Regions from separate parts of the Homo sapiens genome. Here all the other regions are linked to region 3. Evidence: promoter capture Hi-C in 16 types of primary human blood cells and fetal thymus (Javierre and others, 2016). All regions are on one chromosome and are shown on one strand. The core of a region is centred on a gene start or on the middle of the fragment in contact, and the rest is flanking DNA. Distances in the headings are between cores, read along the strand shown. Region 1 overlaps FAM120A (family with sequence similarity 120 member A). Region 2 overlaps FAM120A (family with sequence similarity 120 member A). Region 3 holds the start of NINJ1 (ninjurin 1). Region 4 overlaps FAM120A (family with sequence similarity 120 member A).

The links. Contacts are between HindIII fragments. The CHiCAGO score rates a contact against its expected background, and 5 or more counts as called.
Region 1: a fragment that was not itself captured here is called in contact with the fragment with the promoter of NINJ1 in region 3 in 1 of 17 cell types (monocytes); the score reaches 6.6 in monocytes.
Region 2: a fragment that was not itself captured here is called in contact with the fragment with the promoter of NINJ1 in region 3 in 1 of 17 cell types (neutrophils); the score reaches 7.7 in neutrophils.
Region 4: a fragment that was not itself captured here is called in contact with the fragment with the promoter of NINJ1 in region 3 in 1 of 17 cell types (neutrophils); the score reaches 6.0 in neutrophils.

Annotation. Positions count from the first base shown.
Region 1 is chr9:93,465,272-93,470,406 of GRCh38, reverse strand. The region is part of intron 1 of FAM120A (family with sequence similarity 120 member A); the gene reads right to left. Among named protein-coding and RNA genes, the nearest start is that of FAM120AOS, 14 kb to the right of the region's middle. RefSeq lists enhancers at 971-1,020, 1,101-1,160, 3,199-3,765. The HindIII fragment of the contact is 3,555 bases long and covers 1,735-5,135 here.
Region 2 is chr9:93,564,183-93,568,663 of GRCh38, reverse strand. It overlaps FAM120A (family with sequence similarity 120 member A), which reads right to left. Exons shown (of 18, transcript NM_014612.5): 18 at 2,552-4,435. The coding sequence ends at 4,124. Among named protein-coding and RNA genes, the nearest start is that of PHF2, 10 kb to the left of the region's middle. RefSeq lists a silencer at 1,832-2,251. The HindIII fragment of the contact is 4,632 bases long and covers 1-3,692 here.
Region 3 is chr9:93,132,026-93,137,136 of GRCh38, reverse strand. NINJ1 (ninjurin 1) reads left to right here and starts at 2,886. Exons shown (of 4, transcript NM_004148.4): 1 at 2,886-2,994. The coding sequence starts at 2,920. LOC124902212 (a long non-coding RNA gene) reads right to left here and starts at 4,125. Exons shown (of 3, transcript XR_007061665.1): 1 at 3,544-4,125. RefSeq lists enhancers at 1,576-2,172, 3,632-3,681 and silencers at 2,142-2,191, 2,692-2,921, 3,092-3,341. The HindIII fragment of the contact is 11,448 bases long and covers 1-5,111 here.
Region 4 is chr9:93,513,502-93,517,950 of GRCh38, reverse strand. It overlaps FAM120A (family with sequence similarity 120 member A), which reads right to left. Exons shown (of 18, transcript NM_014612.5): 6 at 2,184-2,284; 7 at 1,682-1,968. Among named protein-coding and RNA genes, the nearest start is that of PHF2, 61 kb to the left of the region's middle. The HindIII fragment of the contact is 4,022 bases long and covers 287-4,308 here.

The sequences.
Region 1 (5,135 bases), core at 2,263-4,762, 330 kb before region 3:
GAGCAAGCAGAGAAGCAACACCTTTGAGAAGTCAAAGTCCTCTGGGCTCTCTCTAGTCCAAAAAATATACCAAAACACCTGGAAAAAATGTTCTAAATGATTTACAGTCCAAGACCACCAAATTCTCTCCTGCTGTTTCACATACTCATTAATCCAACTAAAATTCTGGCAGGTTTTTCGTTTCTACAATGGATAAGGTAATTTTGAGAACAGAATTTTAAACTAAATTAGGTGATTCCAATAACAATGGAGTATTAACTCTCCACAGGGCCTTGGAGGAGAAAAATGTGTGCCACCCTTAACCCCAAGTTTTTAAAACTACTGTCCAATGTGTGGCTACATTGAGAGAAAGTTTATATTAAATTAAATTCAAAATTAAGTTCAAGTATTCAGTGGTCACAGGAGACCAGAAGCTAACATACTAATTGGACAGCACAGAACATTCTCACTACGTCAGAAAATTCTACTGGACATCACTGTAGAATGGACCTCACTTCTCACCAACTTTCATAATAAAAGCAGTCGCCACATTTTGTTGGAAGGTTAGCTATAATGAAATCTCACTGAGAGGCAAAGCAAACCTTTTCAAGATGCATACGTAAAAGAAGAAATTACTTTCTGAATTCTCGGTAAACATTTCCATAAAAACATTTTACTTAATAAGAAAAAAACCAAACAACATCCAATCAGTCAAATAACATTCTATTCTTTAGAATAAGAAATGCTGTTTTATCCCTCAATCTAAAAACACTGTATACCAGCTAAAATAGAATAGATTTTTTTTAAATCCAAAATTAGGCCTGCTTCATCCTCTCACTTCTAGAAATGGTAATTTCTAATCCAAGTTCTTTACCTCAAATCTTTTTATTATGTACAACTTTACATTTACAGTGATTTTTAAACTATTTTAAAATCATTAGAAATTACTGGCTTTTTTCCAGACATCTTTAATAGTTAAGTCTGTACACTCTATTAAGAGACACGAAAATGAAAGGAGACAGTAAGTGACCACTCCCTTCTTGGCTCACCCTCCTTCACTCCTCCAAGGAGATCTAGAAAAGTCAGCTTGTTCCTTAGATTCACACATGTTGGGAAGGAAGCTGGGCAGAACTAAAACAGAGGCTAAAAGGAGGTGAGAGCCCAGCCCTGCCCACCTCCATCAGCAGGGAGTTCAGAGACAGCCAGCACTCATCTCCCAGCTTCACAGGGTGGTGAACAATGCCTGGGTGAGAAGGGGCTGCTGGCCCACGGTGGAAGCAAAGCCATCTCACAAGAAGAGGCTTTCTAACCAAGACCTGAAAGGAGGGGCTGGCCCTGGGCAGGACCTCCAAGGAAGAGTATCCATGCAGCATGGGCAGGGGACCTAGAAAGGTCAGGAAATGAGCCTGGCCTGTTGCCTGGGCAGAGGGACCCACTGTGTTCCAATCCTGGGATCAAGAGGAAAAGCGGGGGATGATGAAGTCTGAGAGTAGCAGGGATCAGGTCTAATCTGGCAGCTTTCAAGTAATGCTGTCAGTATTGTAAAACAGCAGGCAATATATTTCAAGAGCTGTAAAACGTTCACACTCTTTAACCCGGTAACCTCACTCCAGGAAATAGAGCCTAAGAAACTAATTCACTAAATAAAAAACATTAGAAGCATAAAAAGGATCACGGTAGACTCCTAAGGGAAAAAAATAAATTACGGAGATAGACACAGCCACTACGCTGTACTGTGGAGAAACAGAAAAAGCTTAGGATAAAGTATTAAACAAAAGCATTTCAGAATACAATATCATATATACCCAACTATGTAAAACTTTGTGGTAAAAGGCTGGAAAGAAAAAGGCAAAGGTCAACATAGTTGTAATCAGAGTGGTGGAATTATGCCTTAAAAATCCTCTTTTAAAAGAAAAAAACCTAATGAAAAGCTGAAGAAGTACTATTATAAACCATACCTACACTCTGGTCACCTCTCTGCTACAGCACTTTGGACAAACTACCGTTCTTTTACATATATGTCTCTCCAACAGGACAAGGGGCACAGCTTACGCATCTTCACGTCAAGGGTCTAGCTTGGTGCTGGCAGCCAGCAAGCACCAAAAAAAATTAAAAACTGCCCCAGTTTGGTGTTGCATTTCATGGTTCCCCAAAGATTCCTTAAATTAGCAAATTAAAACTAGTAAGATACAGTCTATCCAGTACAGGCCAATATGCAGTAGAACCTCATAAAACAAAGGTGGTAGCCGGGCGCAGTGGCTCACACCTGTAATCCCAGCACTTTGGGAGGCTAAGGTGGGTGATCACCTGAGGTCAAGGAGTGTGAGACTAGCCTGGCCAAAATGGTGAAACCCCGACTCTACTAAAAATACAAAAAAATTAGCCAGGCGTGGTGGCGGGCGCCTATAATCCCAGCTACCCGGGAGGCTGAGGCAGGAGAATCTCTTGAACCTGGGAGGCAGAGGTTGCAGTGAGTCAAGATCACACCACTGCACTCCAGCCTGGGCGACAAGAGCGAAACTCCGTCTCAAAAAAAAAAGAAACCAAAAAAAATACAAAAAAACAAAGGTGGCATGTGGGGCTTTTCATAATTACCTCCTTCCTCCACCCATAACAGAATTACCTATTCACTGAGAACACTTGACTTTAGATTGGCATTAAAAAGCAAACAATAATTCAGTACAACTCTAATTTGCAAATGATTAACCATACCATAATCCTTCCCAAAACCAGACAGAGCATTAAACAAACATCTGACTGCTAGAATTTGTGTCCTAAAACAAAAGATAAAGGACCACACCCATGAACACAGCTTCACACCTGCAGCAAAGGTAGGACCACTCCCAACCTGGCCTCAGTCCATCTTTCCTATCCCAAGTCTCCTGAGTAAAGAGGGTCGGGGGGAGGGAAATCGGAGTCTACGCTCCAGCTCTGCCCCAGATACCCAACCTGCCAGGACAACCTCCCCAACAACCAATGTAAAATCTCAGATCTCTACATTCCTTCAACTTCTAAAATTCTAGAACTCTTCCCTCTCGTTAAAATTAATTGTGCTTTTATCTGAGGAAATGCAACCTGGCATTAAAAACCACAAGAGTAACAGAGAGGATGTCCTTTTCCATGGGTGAATAATGGAAGTGTGGTTCCACAGTTATTCAATGGGGGAAAAGGGGGGGGGGGGTGACAGCAGATCTGGCAAAGAAAATCACAAAAAACTCTGAATGAAAGAGTTCAAAGTCGATTGCCTAGGGGTGGTAGCAACAAGATGACTCAGCATTTGTCGAAACTCATACAATTGTACATCACACAGAATAAACTTTAATGTATGCAAATGAAAAAACAAATCAACCTGGGTGTCAGGGGATGCCAGGATAGAATGCAGACTGACAAATCTATAAAATTGTATTATAAAATGTATGAAATAGCCTCACTGAAACTGGTTGGGGAAAAGGAACTGCCTGAGTACCTGGGAAACAGTGCACTCGACTTGTGTAAGTATGCCTCCCAGAATCTGTGTTAACAATTCTGAAATTACTTTGCAGGAACACTAGGGTTAAAGCAAATGCCGTATGAGCCAGGTCCTCACTGTCAGAGAAAGAAACTACAAATAATCATGCAAAAGGAGAAGGCTAGAATGAACCTCATGGTGCTGCATTAGCCATGAGACATCAGTGAGAACCGGTGTTCAGGTGAAAATACACACATAGGTGGGTACAGAAACAATGGAAGATCTGGTGTTCACACAGATCTCCTTACACGGACCCCCAAGCAGCAGTAGCACCTGTAGCTGTCAGCTATGAGGGCCTAGACACAGAGACACCCCAGCAGCAGGACCCCACCAGTGCCCAGACCAAGGTTTCCAGGCACCTTCTCCATAACAAAGAACCGGGGCTTCTCTTTGGAAACAGCTGACACTGGAGCAGGAAAACACAAGGTGCACCTAAAGCATCTCGTAGGTCCAGAAAGCAAGGAAGCACTCCCAAAACAAAAGGATGGCATGTGTCACACGGGCCAACCCAAGAGAGCTCCCAAAGCCAGAGCCAGGACAATGCAAGCAAGGATAAGGCAGAACTGGATATAACCCCAAATGAATTAGTTATGACCCTATAAAAAGAGGACAGGAGCCCATAATGATATAAATAAATGATTAAATGAAGGGGGAAGAGACACATTTTCCCTACAGAAGAATTCAAATAATACCATACAATTTTCCCCCCAGTAGGTAGAGTTTAACCCTATCCCCTTTGAATGTGGACTGGACTCATCTACTGCTTCCAAAGTATGAGGATGTTATAAATAAGCGAAAGGAAAACTGGTCACTGCAGAGCAAACACCCACAGAGAGCTCCTTACCCAAGCAACCAAGGTCAGCGTCATCCAGTGCTAAGCCGAGTCAATGCCACGTGCCATGTGGGGTGCTGAGAAGCGCCCTGCACCTCTGGGCTATTCTTTTCCCAAACACACAGCCATAATTTAATATAGAGAAAGCATCAGACAAACCCAAATCGGGGACATTCTATAAAACACCTGATTAGTACTCCTCAGAAGTGTCAAGATCACCAAAGACAAACAGAAAAGCTGCCCCAGAAGACAGGGGATGGAGGACACTAGAGGTCCTGACCAGGGTCCCGGAACAGAAAAGGACACTGGTGGGAAACAGATGAAATCCAAATGAAGTCCATAATGAAGTTCACAGTAGTCTACCAAGGGTATTTTCTTGGTTTAGATCACTGTGCCAGCTAGCAGGAAGTGAACATTCCCTGGAAGCTGAGTGAGGGATATTTGGGAAGTCTGTACTATCTTTGTAAATTTTCTATAAAATTATTCCAAATAAGTTTATTTTTCTAAAAAAAAAGAGTCAATATTCTAGAAGACAATACATCAGCTGAAAGACTATTTCAAACCACTTTATTAGATGAACAAAGTATAACAGGCACGTGAAAAATAAATCCTGGCCTAAAGGCAAGTTTCAAAAAGCCTATTATATAAAAACAGAAATCTTCCCACAGGTAGTCCAGTTGAAAGAAACAAGAAAACCTACAAAGTATGGAATTTGGTTACCAATTAATTTATGAGTGAATAAATGCAGTCAAACTACTAAGAATATTCGTAAGAGGCCCAATAAACAATTCCTTAAGATTTAAGTCAAGGAAAGCC
Region 2 (4,481 bases), core at 127-2,626, 430 kb before region 3:
ACTGGAGGATACAGCAAGCCCTGTCCTCGGGGTGGCCATGGGCTTCTCCGCTCTCCATGGATTCCCCTTGGCTGGGTGCTCCATCCGCTGCTCCTGGCCCAGACCTGTATTCCCAGATAGCCTCCACTCATGGCTGCATCACTTGCCCATGCCACCCATCTCCCCATCTTTTCTCATTTTCTTGCTTGAAATATTCTTATTTGTACACATGTATGTTGTCCCCCTACTCAAATGTAAATGCCAGAAAGGCAGGGGCCTTGACATCTTCTGTCCCATGGGGCCTAGGGCTGGGCCTGACACGGACTCTCCGCAAGTGCTTGCAGAACAAGGTAATGTCCAACCATGCTGGTGGGGAAAGACTGAATACGTTACGATGCAGCCCCACCGTGGAGTCTGTGGAACTATGGCAGAATATGGAATGGTAGGGAAAGGCAATCATCAAATGATGCTAAGTTGGGAAAATGTTACAAAATATTAACATGATTTTTTTTGTATAAGAAAAAAATCTATATATTGTATAGAAGGAGAGAGACCAAATGTTAAAAACAGGTGTCTCAGGATGGGGGAATTACCGAGGACTTCTTTTCCTTTTTGTGTATCTAGCCAGTATTTCTTAAACTTACCACAATAAACACATATTGCTTTTGAAACAAGAAAAAAAAATCAGTAAAACCTATTTTTTTGAAAAGGAAGAGGATAAATGGCCAGGCAGCAGAACATACGACTTGCCCCAGGATATCATGCTGCCAGGAAGGAGAAACACCAGCATCACCATTCAGTCCAGCCCGCACCAGTGCCACCCACAGCCACTGACCCCTGGGCCCATGACAGCATCGCCCTTGGGCCTTCCTCTGCAATTCTGGTGGTGTGGAAGGAGTGGCCAGCATGGCTCCAGCAAGGAGGGATGTCCTTGGCCTCCTTGTTCCAGCCACAGGGTCGCCGGAGCCCCAGCACCCTCTCCCTTCCTCTCTCCTTAATGCCCACGCCTGCACCTACTGGAGCTTCAGGAGCGGGTGGACAGACCCAACTTGGAGCTAAGGGTTGGGTTCCAGCCCAGTCCCTGCTGAGAGTGACCTAAAGCAAGCTGTGCTGCTCTCTCACCTACAGCAATTGCAACTAAGAGATGAGAACCACCGGAAAGAAGGAGCACCTGCTTGTCAGGGAGCAGAGAGGGACCCTTGACATGCGCGCGCTCCTGCTGCTGAGACTGTACTGTTCAGAAACCTGTCCCTCTCCCCTCTTAAAGCCAGAGGGCTCTCCCTGTCAGTTTGCTATTCTCAAGTGGCGTGGGCCTGCCCCTTGAGAGAGGGAAGAAAAGCGCGTGGTTGTCACGGTGGGAGAGGTACTGCCTAGCAATGGATGGTGGAAGCTGGTGGGCCTGGAAAGTGTTCCTCCACAACGCTGTCCCTCTGCCAGGCACGTGCGATCCAGAGTGGGTTAGACTGGTTCCCGTCACAGGCAGGGTCCTCAGTGGAATGGTGTTTTTGAAAGATGGAGCGTCCGGGCGCCCCCATCTTCTCACAGCACAGAGAAGGGGCTGGCTGGCCCGCCACCGGGAGGCTGGCGCAGAGGGACTCAGCCGTGGCCCCGGAACAGCGGGCCACCGTCAGGAACCGGCGAGTCAGGGTGGGAAGAGGCCCTGGAGTGAGCGAGGCTAGCTTCACTTCCTTCAAACTCTGAAGGCCCACCCCATAAAAAGAAGGGGTAAATTCGTCTGGGGTCTGAACAGCCAGGACCAAGAGCGCTCTCAGGCTGCTAGTTGGAGAAACTGGCTCGGCTCGGGCCTTGCTGGGACTCGGGCTCCCAGGGTCTGCTCGGTCTCTCTCGGGGCACTCGGGTCTTTGCTGGGCCCGGCGCCGGCCCCGCACAGAGAACCGGCTTCAACGGCGCAGTCTCAGCCTCCGGGAGGAAAAAGCTGGGAGTAGGCCTCACTGACACGGCCCCGCCTCGCGGGCTGCGCGCGCACCGGGACCTGCGCGGTGGCGGACGGGGAAGCGCCACGCAAGGCCCCGCCCCGCCCTTCCACAGGAAGGAAACGCGCCCCCGGGCGAGCGCCAGCCCCTCCCTGGAGCGGGATCGCCGCAGCTCTCCTGGCCGCCTCCGGCGCCGTTAGCCCACCATCCCCCGCTAGAGGGCAGCACGGGGCGCTTTCTCCAGGCGCTCGGCGGACCTGGGTACGGGGACCTCATATCAGGCTGCAGAGAAGAGCCTTCAGTCAAAAGGATGGCATGAAAAACGGACTATACTTGTAACATCCAGCTTTTAAAACGTGGTGGAGTCAAATTTATTGCTTCCTCAGGGCTTAAAAAAACCTCTTCTGTAAGTCTGCTTTATCAAACAGAATTTTTTTATCCCCTTGGTTGCTTGAAACTGAGCTATCAAACAAATTAATCATATATTAATGTCCCTCTAAGCCGGAAACCTGGAATTACTTTGAAAAGGTAAAATATTTTTCAACTTTGGTTTTCTGATCTTTTCAGTAGTTGTTTCGATTTGAATTAAACCTCTATAAAATTAGCTTTTACAAGTGAATTTAAAAGCCACGCCATACTTTATACTAAAAGAATAAAGATTTTTATTAAGCATTGTAAGTTGCATTCAATAGCCTTCAGATACACCACACCACAATCCATCGACAGTCAATCAAACCCAACAGCAGTTCATTCTTGCACAATCCATGAGTTAGGGCAAAACTCCCTTCAACTTACAGTAAGATCCTACTTAGCTCTTGCGGGCAGGGGTTGGGGAATTACACCTCATTTCTGATCACTAATGTGATGAAGAGCATCAGAAGTATATGAAAACGATAAGAAGTGATTCTGATTTCAAAGTACATTGTTTGGAAACATTAACAAAAACATCAAAATGATAGAAGTATACCTGCTTCTACTAAATTCTTGATGGGAAAGTTCTCAAGAACAAGCAATTTGTTTCCTGCTACAGAAGGGGGGGGTGGTTTTTTTTTTTTTAAGATCAAAGGGTTTTTTTTCACAGAATTTCATATTTGCTAATATGAAGGCATAAAACAGCAACAAAGAACAATAATGCATACAGCAGTGAATACACCAGGGTAATGTTGATATTCGAAACGGCTAGATAATTTTTGGGGGGCTTTAGAATAAATGCAACAGAGGTCAATAATCACAAAATTTTAAGGTTAGAGCAAGATCAGTCAATGACTAAACAGAGTTAACATCTTTTATAGGACTATTACTGATTATTAGCATTTTTGTTTTGCAAATGGGCACATACTGTTAAGAATGGAAGAAAGGACGATAACATGCATATTAACTACACACTTTAAAAATTATGAACCATGCAGAAGTTTAGCTCAAGTAGTAGTACTAATGGTCTACATCCGATTCAAAACCACATAGTTCATTGATCACAGATGCATGGTATTAGTCACGAAAGTTTCAGAACACATTGTGTTGATTTTGAAAGGTCATTTGCATCTTCTATGATTTCAACTTTATCTCCATTTAACTTGCTTGTAAAGTATGTATGATGTATTGTATATTTAAAATCAGCAGAACGGCAATATTACTCTATAATTTTTTAGTTTTGATAGTTGCACTTTTTTTTTTTAACACAAAAGAACCACATCAACAGTGATGAAATTTAAGAAAGAAAAACTGTGGTTGTGCCTTATTTCTTTCATAATCATAAAAATCAAAGCCTTAAAGAAAGCTTCATTGTGAAACAGTAATGCAAAATCAAATATAATGGCATACATATGGTGCCAAATGCTAAAAATTATATTTTAAGCTATATATACTTAAAGACTGCCAAAATTTGTTTTCTTTATAGTTCAAGAAACACAACTAAAGGCTTTTGTCATAACCAGTTTAAACTTTATGTGTACTTCATTTTAAGTGCGGGAGTCAAATGCTCTTCATTTTCTTTCTCTTTTTTGTTTTATTGTAGCATTTTGACTACAACTGGTTAAAACTAAAAATGTGTTGTTTAAATCTCTGATATCAAAGAGGGATCTGAATTTCCAAAGTCCTCATTTTTCTCTTACGGAAAGGACAAAATGTACATAACTGCAGGCTCTCTTTCTCTCCAGATATTCCTAAATCCTTACCCTTCCAGCATCCTTCACCCTCTATAAAAAATAAGTTTACTCTTCTTTATTTAAGACAGCTGCCTCCAGAGCAGCTTCTCTGCGGCAAGCGCTGTCTGTACTTAGTGCATTTAAATGAGGATTTGTATTGCACGTTTTAGAGTCATTATTCAAGGCACTTTCAGAGTGGCTGGGGGCCCTGGCGTCACCCGTGCTCCCGTTCATCTGGGGAGCCGGCTTCTCCTCGGCCATCACTCCGTTTTCAGCCAGGGACCCGTCTGAAGACATAGCAGAGGACTTCGATTCCCCAGATTTTGACTTAAGTTCTTTGGCCACTTCTTCTGCTGAAGCAGCATAAGGAGGTCTGCCCTGTTTAAAATGAAGGACAACAAATGAGAAGGTGGTTTCTGATAAA
Region 3 (5,111 bases), core at 1,637-4,136:
GGAGCACGCTGGGGTGACACCTCCATGGTCCTCACATGCCATCTTGCCTTATACCCACTTTACATATGAGGAAGCACATCCCAAGCCAGAAGGGGCAGATCTGAACTCAACACAACGCCAGCCCCAGAAGAATCCACTAGAGTCTTTGATGGGGGAGAGGGATGCACCAAGCCTCCCTGGGCACCAGAGAGGCATCCTGAGATACCCTGTGGGCTCCTCCACAGAGGCCTGGGGCCCTCGTACATATACAGTGTTTGTGTGTGCACACCCACCCACACATAGGGCTGCTCTGCTGGGGCATCTGCCAGCCCGTTCCTCCCAGCCACACCCCTCCTCTGTGTCTCTCCTGGGGACATGTCCCTCAGCTCAGGGTCAGCGTCTAGAAACTGGTCTTGGACAGCTCATGCACTCATGGTCTCCAGGAGAACTTGAAAGTAGGTGGTTGGGCCCGGTGCAGTGGCTCACGCCTGTAATCCTTTCACTTTGGGAGGCTGAGGTAGGCAGATCACAAGGTCAGGAGATCGAGACCATCCTGGCTAACATGGTGAAACCCCGTCTCTACTAAAAATACAAAAAATTAGCCAGGCGTGGTGGCGGGCGCCTGTAGTCCCAGCTACTCGAGAGCCTGAGGCAGGAGAATCGCTTGAACCTGGGAGGCGGAGCTTGCAGTGAGCCAAAATCGCGCCACTGCACTCCAGCCTGAGCAATAGAACGAGACTCCATCTCAAAAAAAAGAAAAAAAAAAGGTAGATGGAGGTGACACGGGGTACACTGTGCCTTTAAGACTTGTCCTGGGTTGGATCCAGCAGAGAACAGTTGGGTAAACAGCATTGAGCACAGTGGGGAAAACAGACACTACATACTCAAATGAGGATGACGGAGCAGACGAGGGAACTCCAGCGCTGCAGCCTGCCTGAGCCCTGACACCCACACGTCCTGCCAGCAGCCCCAGGAGCTGAGGAAACTGAGGCTGGGAGAGGGTCTCAGACGGCCAGCACAGAGCAGGTTTACAAACCCCGAGGCTGATGTCCCAACTGTCACTGGTGCTGCGACCCTCCCGGCTTCCTCTTAGAAGGTGGGAATGGGGCCAGGCGCAGTGGCTCATGCCTGTAATCCTAGCACTTTAGGAGGCTGAGGCGGGCAGATCACCTGAGGTCAGGAGGTGATCTGGCCAACATGGTGAAATTCTGTCTCTACCAAAAATACAAAAATTAGCCGGGCGTGGTGGCGCACACCTGTAGTCCCAGCTACTCAGGAGGCTGAGGCAGGAGAACGGTGTGAACCCGGGAGGTGGAGCTTGCAGTGAGCCAAGATCGCACCACTACACTCTAGCATGGGCGACAGAGCAAGACTCCATCTCAAAAAAAAAAAAAAAAAAGGATGGGAATGATGAACCACACTGCAGGAGCTCCCACATGGCACAAAGGAAAGAATACTCTCAGGACGGGGTCTCCACCTGCCAAGCCCTCCTACTTCGGGGCCTCTCTACACGCCCTTGGCCTTCCAAGGTCTCAGGGCTCCCCTGCAGCTCCCAGGGCCCTTTCTGGGTGTGACGTATTTTCTCTGTGGTCCCACACCTCCTGCCCCTCCAGGAATTGAGCCCTCGTGGGCAGGCACTATCCCCCAGAATAGGGATTTGTCCCATACTGTGAGAGAGTTTTTTGTGTGAATGGTGCTGGATTTCCAGCTGCTGGTGAACACTCAGGTGTGCCAACAGTGCCCTGATTATGCGAGGACAACAGCAACCATCCCCGTCGTGGGCCACCGTGCCAGACCCTGTCCTGCAGATCCCCTCTGAGGCAGAGCTGGGGCAGTGACAGCCTGAGCCTCAGTTTCTCTGCTGTGAAGTGGGCCCACGACAGCTCCTCCTTCATGGGATGACCCCGTTTGGAGGATCAGGGCAAGCGCAATCCTGCTGCCCTGCCCATGCCCACTCACTCCTACCTCCTGTCCCGGTGGCAGCCTGACTGGACAGAGCCTGGGGTCTGAGCTGGCCTTCCTTCCACTGCCCTTCTGGAAATAGAGTGGCCATACTGCCGCAAGCTGACTATGCTGTGGTCAGGATGAACTCCCCTGGCCTCCCAGGGTGGCCGCCACATGCTCTCGACCCCCAGGCCCCCAGATGGGCAAAGTGCTGAGGAATGAACATATGGAGAAACAGAGACCAAACAACCACTTCAATCATACAACAGGTGGGGGCCCGCCTAGCATCTGGCCAGGGCTCTGGGCACTGTGCTGCCCCCAGCCCACCCCCTGCCACAGGTGGCACAGATGGGCCCATGAGTCAGCGCACGTTCATCCCCTTTGTGCCTCCCCCAGCCCCTCCAGCAGTCTGTGCCCTCATAACCCCCATTTCCCAGGCAGGAAAACCTAAGGTCAGGGAGTGGGAAGCCCTGTGTCAGCGTGGCCCGCAATCAGGGGAACCCCGGACTCTCTGACGCTGTTACTAGGGGCGCAGCAGGCGCTGTGCTGGAGCGATCTGCGGTTCCCAGGGCGAACCCCGCCTGGGAAAAACCCAGCGTGGGCGCCAGCGGCAACGCCCGCTCGCTTTCATGCAGTTTGCCTGGTGGCCAGGGAAAGGTCGTTCTTGGCCTCATTTTGTGGATTAAAAGTGTCCGCGACGGAGGTTCAGAGCAAGACGCAGCGCAGGGTCCTCTGGGGCCATCGGCGTCGCGCCCCCTCCCTTGTGGGGCCCCGCGGGACCGTCTCAGGCCCGAGGGGTTGGGGTCGCCCCAAACTGCGCGCTCTCAGCGTACAGCCTCCAGGCCCCGGGCCCGCCCCGGGTGGAGGCGGAGTCTGGGGCAGCAGCTCGCCGCCGGGCGGGCCGGGGGCGGGCCGGGGGCGGGCGCGCAGCTGGAGCCTGCGGCTGAGGCTCGGGCGCGCTCAGGCCCGGATCCTGGCGGCCTGGGCGGCCGCACCATGGACTCGGGAACCGAGGAGTACGAGCTCAACGGCGGCCTGCCTCCGGGCACACCCGGCTCCCCGGACGCCTCGGTAAGACCTTCCCCCCACCGCTGCATGATCTTGCCAGGCCCTGTCCTTTCGGGGCGCCGCGGCTCCCCGGGCACCTGTGTGCGCCGCGTCCGCACTGCAGAGTGTTGGGGGACGTCCCGCTCTAGGCCAAGTCCTTCCCGCCCCATCAGGGTCAGAACGATGCCCCCGGGAGCTCCAGCCACCCCCGGCAAGTGGGCGGGACGAGGGGGCGTGGGGGCGCAGGGCGGGCTGGCGTCCCCAGCCCCACTAAGCAGCGCCCGCGCTTGGCTGCACGGCGGAGGGGGCCTCGGCGCAGCTCCTCGGGCTAAGGACTGCCGGCGCCCGGCTTTCCCGACCTCCCCCCCACTCTCGCGCGGGCCTCTCTAACTTCAGCCTCGCCGTGCCGGCTCCTCCGCGCACTTTGCCCGGAGGCGGGCGGAGGGGAGTCACAGCCTCCGGGCTCCAGACCAGCTGCATGCAGACAGTTACGTCACCCCACGCTGACCACACAATCTGATGCGTGCCTTGATGGGGGAACTTGGGGCCCGCTGTGGTCCCTATTCCACTCACCTGCCTTGAGAAATAGAAACGTCACACAGCCTTCAGTGTATGCCGCCACCGGCCCTCCAGAACTTGCCCTGCCCGGCCTGGGAGGGCTGTGGGCAGGGGGCAGGCCCTGGTAGTGGTCCCGCTTCAGAATTCTTCATCCCAGGACTCAGCACTTACTGAGCACCTTGTGTTTGTTGCAAGGTCCTGGCATGGCCCTCTGGTGACTTGTTTACTTTGAACATTCTTTCCTTTTCTAACCCCCTCAGGGATGGGGGCAGGGAACAGCAGCCTGTTGGGTTTTTCCAGGCCTCTCCATGGCGTGGACCAGACTGGGGCAAAGACACTCTGCCCACTCGCTGGTGAACAGTCCTAGGCCGGTGCTGTGGGGACAGGACATGTTCGGGGAGGCGGGGCCCCATGAGCCACGGGATAGGATGGCCCTGGGGCTGCATGGACACTTGTTCCTAGGTTAGAGAGGAGCTGTCGCACTGCAGGACTTGACCGGTGTGCGGGACCCCAGCGACCTGGCCCTGCCCCAGTGTGTGAGCACTTTGGAGCAATAGGCAGGGGGCTCCTCCGGCTGTGTGTCCTTGGGAAGTTGCCACACCTCGCTGGGCCTTTTAGACATGGTCTTATAAAGAGAGAACAAAGGGTCTCTCCTGCCTTCAGGGAAGTGGGGAAAGCAAGTCAGGTAATAAACAGGTCAGTGGCTTGGAAGCGCCTTGGAAAGGAAGGGATACTGCTCCTCCCCCAACCCTGACCTTGCCCGGGCAATGCCCTCCACTCAGAGCAGTCTCTGCTCACTTCTGCGGGCGGCAGGATAGGCTGTGCCTCCTGAGATGGGTGCATCTCAAGCCCAGAGGAGATTGGGTTGGATTTGTTCCCGGATCACTGTCTTGGCTCTGGGCACCAGAGGGAGAGAGACACAGCCCCGCCCCACCAAGCCGCGGTTGGAGAGCAGCCCAGCCCAGACAGGGCAGGAGAGGCCAGGGCAAAGCAGGGGGTTCCCTGGGGGCTGGGAGCCCATCGTGGGGGGCGGGGCATGGTGGTCAGGGAAGGCTTTCTGTGGAGGTGGGGACATTGGCTCTGAGCCCTGGAGGGCAGGGAAGGTGGGTGAGCAGATCTGGCTCTCTGAGATGTGTGGAAGGGCATCTAGGCAGAGGGAACAGTGGGAGCAAAGGCTCAGAGGCTGGACCACAGAGCACATGAGGGCCAGGTAGGAGGTGGGGGGATGGGAAGCCAGGCCGATGGGAGGGGCCTTGCAGGCCTGATCACGGTCTGGTGTCCAGGGAGCTGTGGAAAGGCTATGAGCCAGTGTGAGGATGAGCACATTTCCCCTTGAGGGGTAGAAAACTTCGAGGGCCGCTCTGCTCACCCAGCCTGGGGGCCCAGGACCACCCAACACACCTGTTCCTCTTCCCAACCTCAAGACCTTGCTTCTCCGTTTCTTGGGCACATCATGTCAGCACTCTGTGCCTCAGTTTCTCATCTGTGAAATGGGTGTGGTCGCGGTGCCTGCCATAGAGAGTGGTGAGGACTCAGTAGCTGATGTATATGAAGTGCTTAGAGCCAGGCCAGCACTCAGCGCC
Region 4 (4,449 bases), core at 1,048-3,547, 380 kb before region 3:
TCCAAAAAGCTGACCAGAACCTTCACAGACAGGTAGGAAGTGCATACCCAGAAAAGACAGGACATGCTCAGGCAGTCCTACTCACTCCAAGTTCAGCTCATCCTAACAAAGACAACTTGCCAAATTAGATGGGCAACTCACATTCTTCTCAATCCCTCCCCACCGGAGGAACAAGCACCTCAACTGAAACATGCCCCAGTCACCACCCACGTCCCCAAGTCAGCACCTTGACCTGGTTTCCACATCTCCATCACTAGCATGGAACTCTTGTTGGGGTCATAAAGCTTACTTCTTTTGCTTTTTGTCTTACTTCTTACCTATGTTTCACAGTTTAGAAAGAACATTTCTTACTAAGACAAAAACTGTATTGTACAGACACTTGGACCTTGCTGACATGAGTCACGTTTTACAACAAAATGCACATGCCTTAGAAATCTGGCACATAAGGGCTTCCAAGACCATCAAGCAGTTGTTCTCAAACTTCAGTGTGCTAAAGACTGACTGAGGTGCTTATTTAAAATGCAAATTTGGGGGCCCCAACCAGAGATTCTGATTCAATGGGTACTCAATATATTATCTTGCTAGAGGTTAATTTAAAAATTTGAATATTCAATTGCAACTCTTTACTTCATTTTAGAGTCTTGGCATTGCATATACAGCAAATAAACATTTATTAATTTTATACTTCTCTGCACATACAACAAATCAACATTTATTAATGTTATACTTCTCTGCTATAAACAGGGTATGCATCCCTGGATGGCAGAGAGTCCTTCAGTAAGCTCTGCCCTGGGTCAACAGACATTTATTCCCATTTCACAGATGGACAGAGGACAGAGAGGAAAAGATCACCTGCTTCAGGTGACACACAAGGTAAGAACTGGCATGGAAGCTGACACCTATGTCTCTTACATTTCCTACATCAGAAACAGATGTAACATCAACCAGCCCTGGTTATCTGCGCTGTAAAGTAGAGTTCACACCAAGGAAAAGGAGACACTGACTTAAAGAAAAGAAATATTCTTTCCCTGTTTTTTTTGTTTTAAACATAAGACAATTTAAAGAAAGGGAGGAGTGCAAATTAAAGATTTCCTCGATCAAATTTTAACCAACTATGTATTTGTGAACCCATTTATTCAGGGACACACAGTGTTTAAAATACTCCTCTAAGGAAACAATTCCAGCCTGGGTCTAGGCAGCTTTCTAGGGTTTTGCTTGGGCAAACAGTGTTATTTCCAAAGTGTCCTGTAACCTGCTGAGTTTAGGAGAAGGAGAGGAAATTCAGAGCTCCCTTGATCCAGGAGCCAGAAGATTAATGTTTCGGGGGTCGGCAGGGGGTTGCTGTGACGGGTGTGAGTGGCACCACACCGGACAAATGCCCCCATGTTTTGGTCATCACACAAACCAGTTCTTGTCAAATTCCTCCCCAGAAAGTTTCCTGTGGCTCCAGGCCATGGGGCTGGGATAGTGCAGATTTTAAATCATGGAAACTTCAAGAACATACCTACTCTTCCTCTCTCCTCTCTGTCCAAGGAGCCCCCATCTGAGTACAGACTGACCATCACCCACCTGCAATAAACTACATCTCTGAGCAAAACACCAGCTGGGCTGGCAGGCCAGAAGGCAGCTTCCCCAGGTCACTACCCGCCAGGAAGCACCCAGCGACCCACGCACCACTCACTTTGTCGCCCCTCCGCTGCCCTCGTCGTTGTCGGAAGATGACGATGTAGAAGAGCCAGGGAAGTAGGCGGAATCCACGTGGTTGGGGCTGCCGCTCTGGGCCGGGTTGATGGGCGAGGACCGCTCATACAGCGGCGTGTGCTTCCCTTCGTGAGGAATGTTGCTGTAGCTGTTCTGCTCCGTCAGATTCTTCCCGCTCGTGTCCAAAGTGAGAGGTGCTGGCTCAGAGAGGCTGTACGGGTATGGACCCTGGCCCGGGGCGCCCCCTGGGCTGGGCACCTGTGGGGCCTGAAGCGAAGGGCACAGGTCACGCACACGTGGCCAGCAGGACCCGACTCAGGCCCAGGCTGACGTTTCCTGGCTCATTTTTATTTCAACAAACACTGGCATCTATTTCACGTATCAATTCAAGAGGTTAGGAACTTATTTTAGCATTCGTTGAAATTCAATGCACGCACCCTGTCTGAGACCCGCCACCCGACCCAACGCAGGGAAGGCCTTACCACGGGCTTTGCTTGCAGAGAGGTCTGCGGAATGTTGAGCATCTGAGGAGGAACATGCGGCGGCACCATCCCAGGCATTCCAAACGGACCGGGTCTGGCTGCTTCACCAACACAGAAAGAAAAGAATCACACAGCTGTGAACAGAATGCGTTTTCCAGGGCATCCTGGGGGCCAGCCCATGGCGCCAGGGATCTCACCCTCACCTGGCTCAGACATCGACACCACCATGGGTCCCACTTCTCAGAAATCATTACAAATTGCCATTTCACAGTAAGGAAAACTTAATTTTATGATGCTCCATTTGATGGACTCGGGCTGGGATTCTAACTTTCCAGATTTCTCAGTGAACTTGCCATAGTGGTTCTGCTCTCGTGTACTTCCTGAGGGCCTCGGCTGTCCCTCTGCCTGCAACTTGGTGGGGATTCTCTGTAACTCAGTCTCCCTGCTCAGGGCTGCTCCTAGCCTGAGGTCTCCGTGAAACCAGAAGCCCTGGCAGGCATGAAAGGAACAAAGTCGGACCGAACAGTTTCCTTTACCTTTGTCAAGCAAGAGGACTTTTCTATTTAAAGTACATTGCAACTACCATTAGGTTCTCAGCTAACTAGTGAGTTTTTAAATATAAAAGGAATTGCTTTTCATTGTTCAGCAATTAGGTTACACATTTTAACACATATACAGGATGAGTAATTTGTGATTCTGTGTTCTCTTAAAACATAATTTCATAAACCTGCCTGATGTGTGCTGCCATGTGCTAGTCATCATTCCCACGCTACCTTGCAAAAATGAAGAAATCTGTGAGAGGACTGAAAGCCACATAGAGGAATGGCTGAAGCAGGACAGCAGGACATGGAACCAGGCCAGCCTGAAGCTGGGACAGAAGGCAGGGGCTGGAAGCCTCCCCACTCAACCTCTGGCCTCGCGCGGCCTAACTAAGCACAGGAAGAGAGCTCAGGGGCCACGTCAGCCAACAGAAGTGAATGAGTGAGTAGATGGTGCCCATAAAGGGCTGTTCCAGAGACAGCACAAGACCCGCAGTAACAAGGACCGACTGGGGCCCAAATGATATGCAGGAAGCAGGAGGACATGGGACATGGACCTCTAGGAGCTGCACTCCCTCTCAGAACACTTAGGTGCTGAGGGCCTATGATGTGTCAAGCTGAGGACTGGGCCTGGGGATGAAAGGAGCCCTGAGGCGGTTTAAGTAAGATGCACACTGCTGAAGACACAGAGAAAATAGAAAACCTGTGTGAGACACAACAGATCCACCAGGGGCTTGCACGGCTGCACCATCTCTTCCTTGGGTTTGTTTTAAATGTGGAAGAAAACCAAGCCCAGAGCTTGCTGACTCCAATTTCCCTCTTTAAGCAGTAGATATGCTTCTACAACCTCTTCATCTGAACACCAGTTGATATGGTTAGGCTGCACATCCCCACCCAAATCTCATCTTGAATTATAATCCCCATAATCCCCACGTGTCTAGGCAGAGAGACTAGGTGGAGGTAATTGGATCATAGGGGCAGTTTCTCCCATGTTCTTCTAATGATAGTGAATGAGTTCTCACAAGATCTGATGGTTGTATAAGGGGCTCTTCCCCCTTCACTCGACACTTCTTACCGCTGCCTTGTTAAGAAGGTGCCTTGCTTCCCCTTCAACTTCTGCCATGATGCTAAGTTTCCTGAGGCCTCCCCAGCCATGCTGAACTGTGAGTCAATTAAACCTCTTTCCTTCATAAATTATCCAGTCTCAGGCAGTTCTTTATAGCAGTATGAAATCAGAGGAAAACACCAGGCAAGGGGAACACAACCCAAGAACCACCACCTCTCACACTGCCTACTGCCAATATAGGTAAGGACAGAAACATTCCCCAAACCTTCACTCTCGTTCTCTGAAAAGCAAATGTCCATGGCTGCATTCACAAGAGGTTCCCTAAGCCAACACTGGGCGTGGTGAGACCAGGAGTGCAAACGCTGTCCTTGGTCCGGCCTCCTGAGAGCCAAGCATGGTCAACAGACGCTGGGAGTGAAGCACAGATCATTGTTGACTCCCCCCAGAGAACGACCAGGAATCTTACAGACTACAATTTATCTGAGGTTCCTGCCTTCCAAGGGCCTTCAGCTCGCAAGCTTTAAACACCATAGCCCTTCGATCCTGGCTCGCATCAAGAAAAAACCTTGGCAGAGCTTCCACCTTTGTACCAAACAAAAACAACTGCAGTATGAGAAGCTGGGAATAATGAGACTGGCATGTGTGTAGTCACAGACACCTC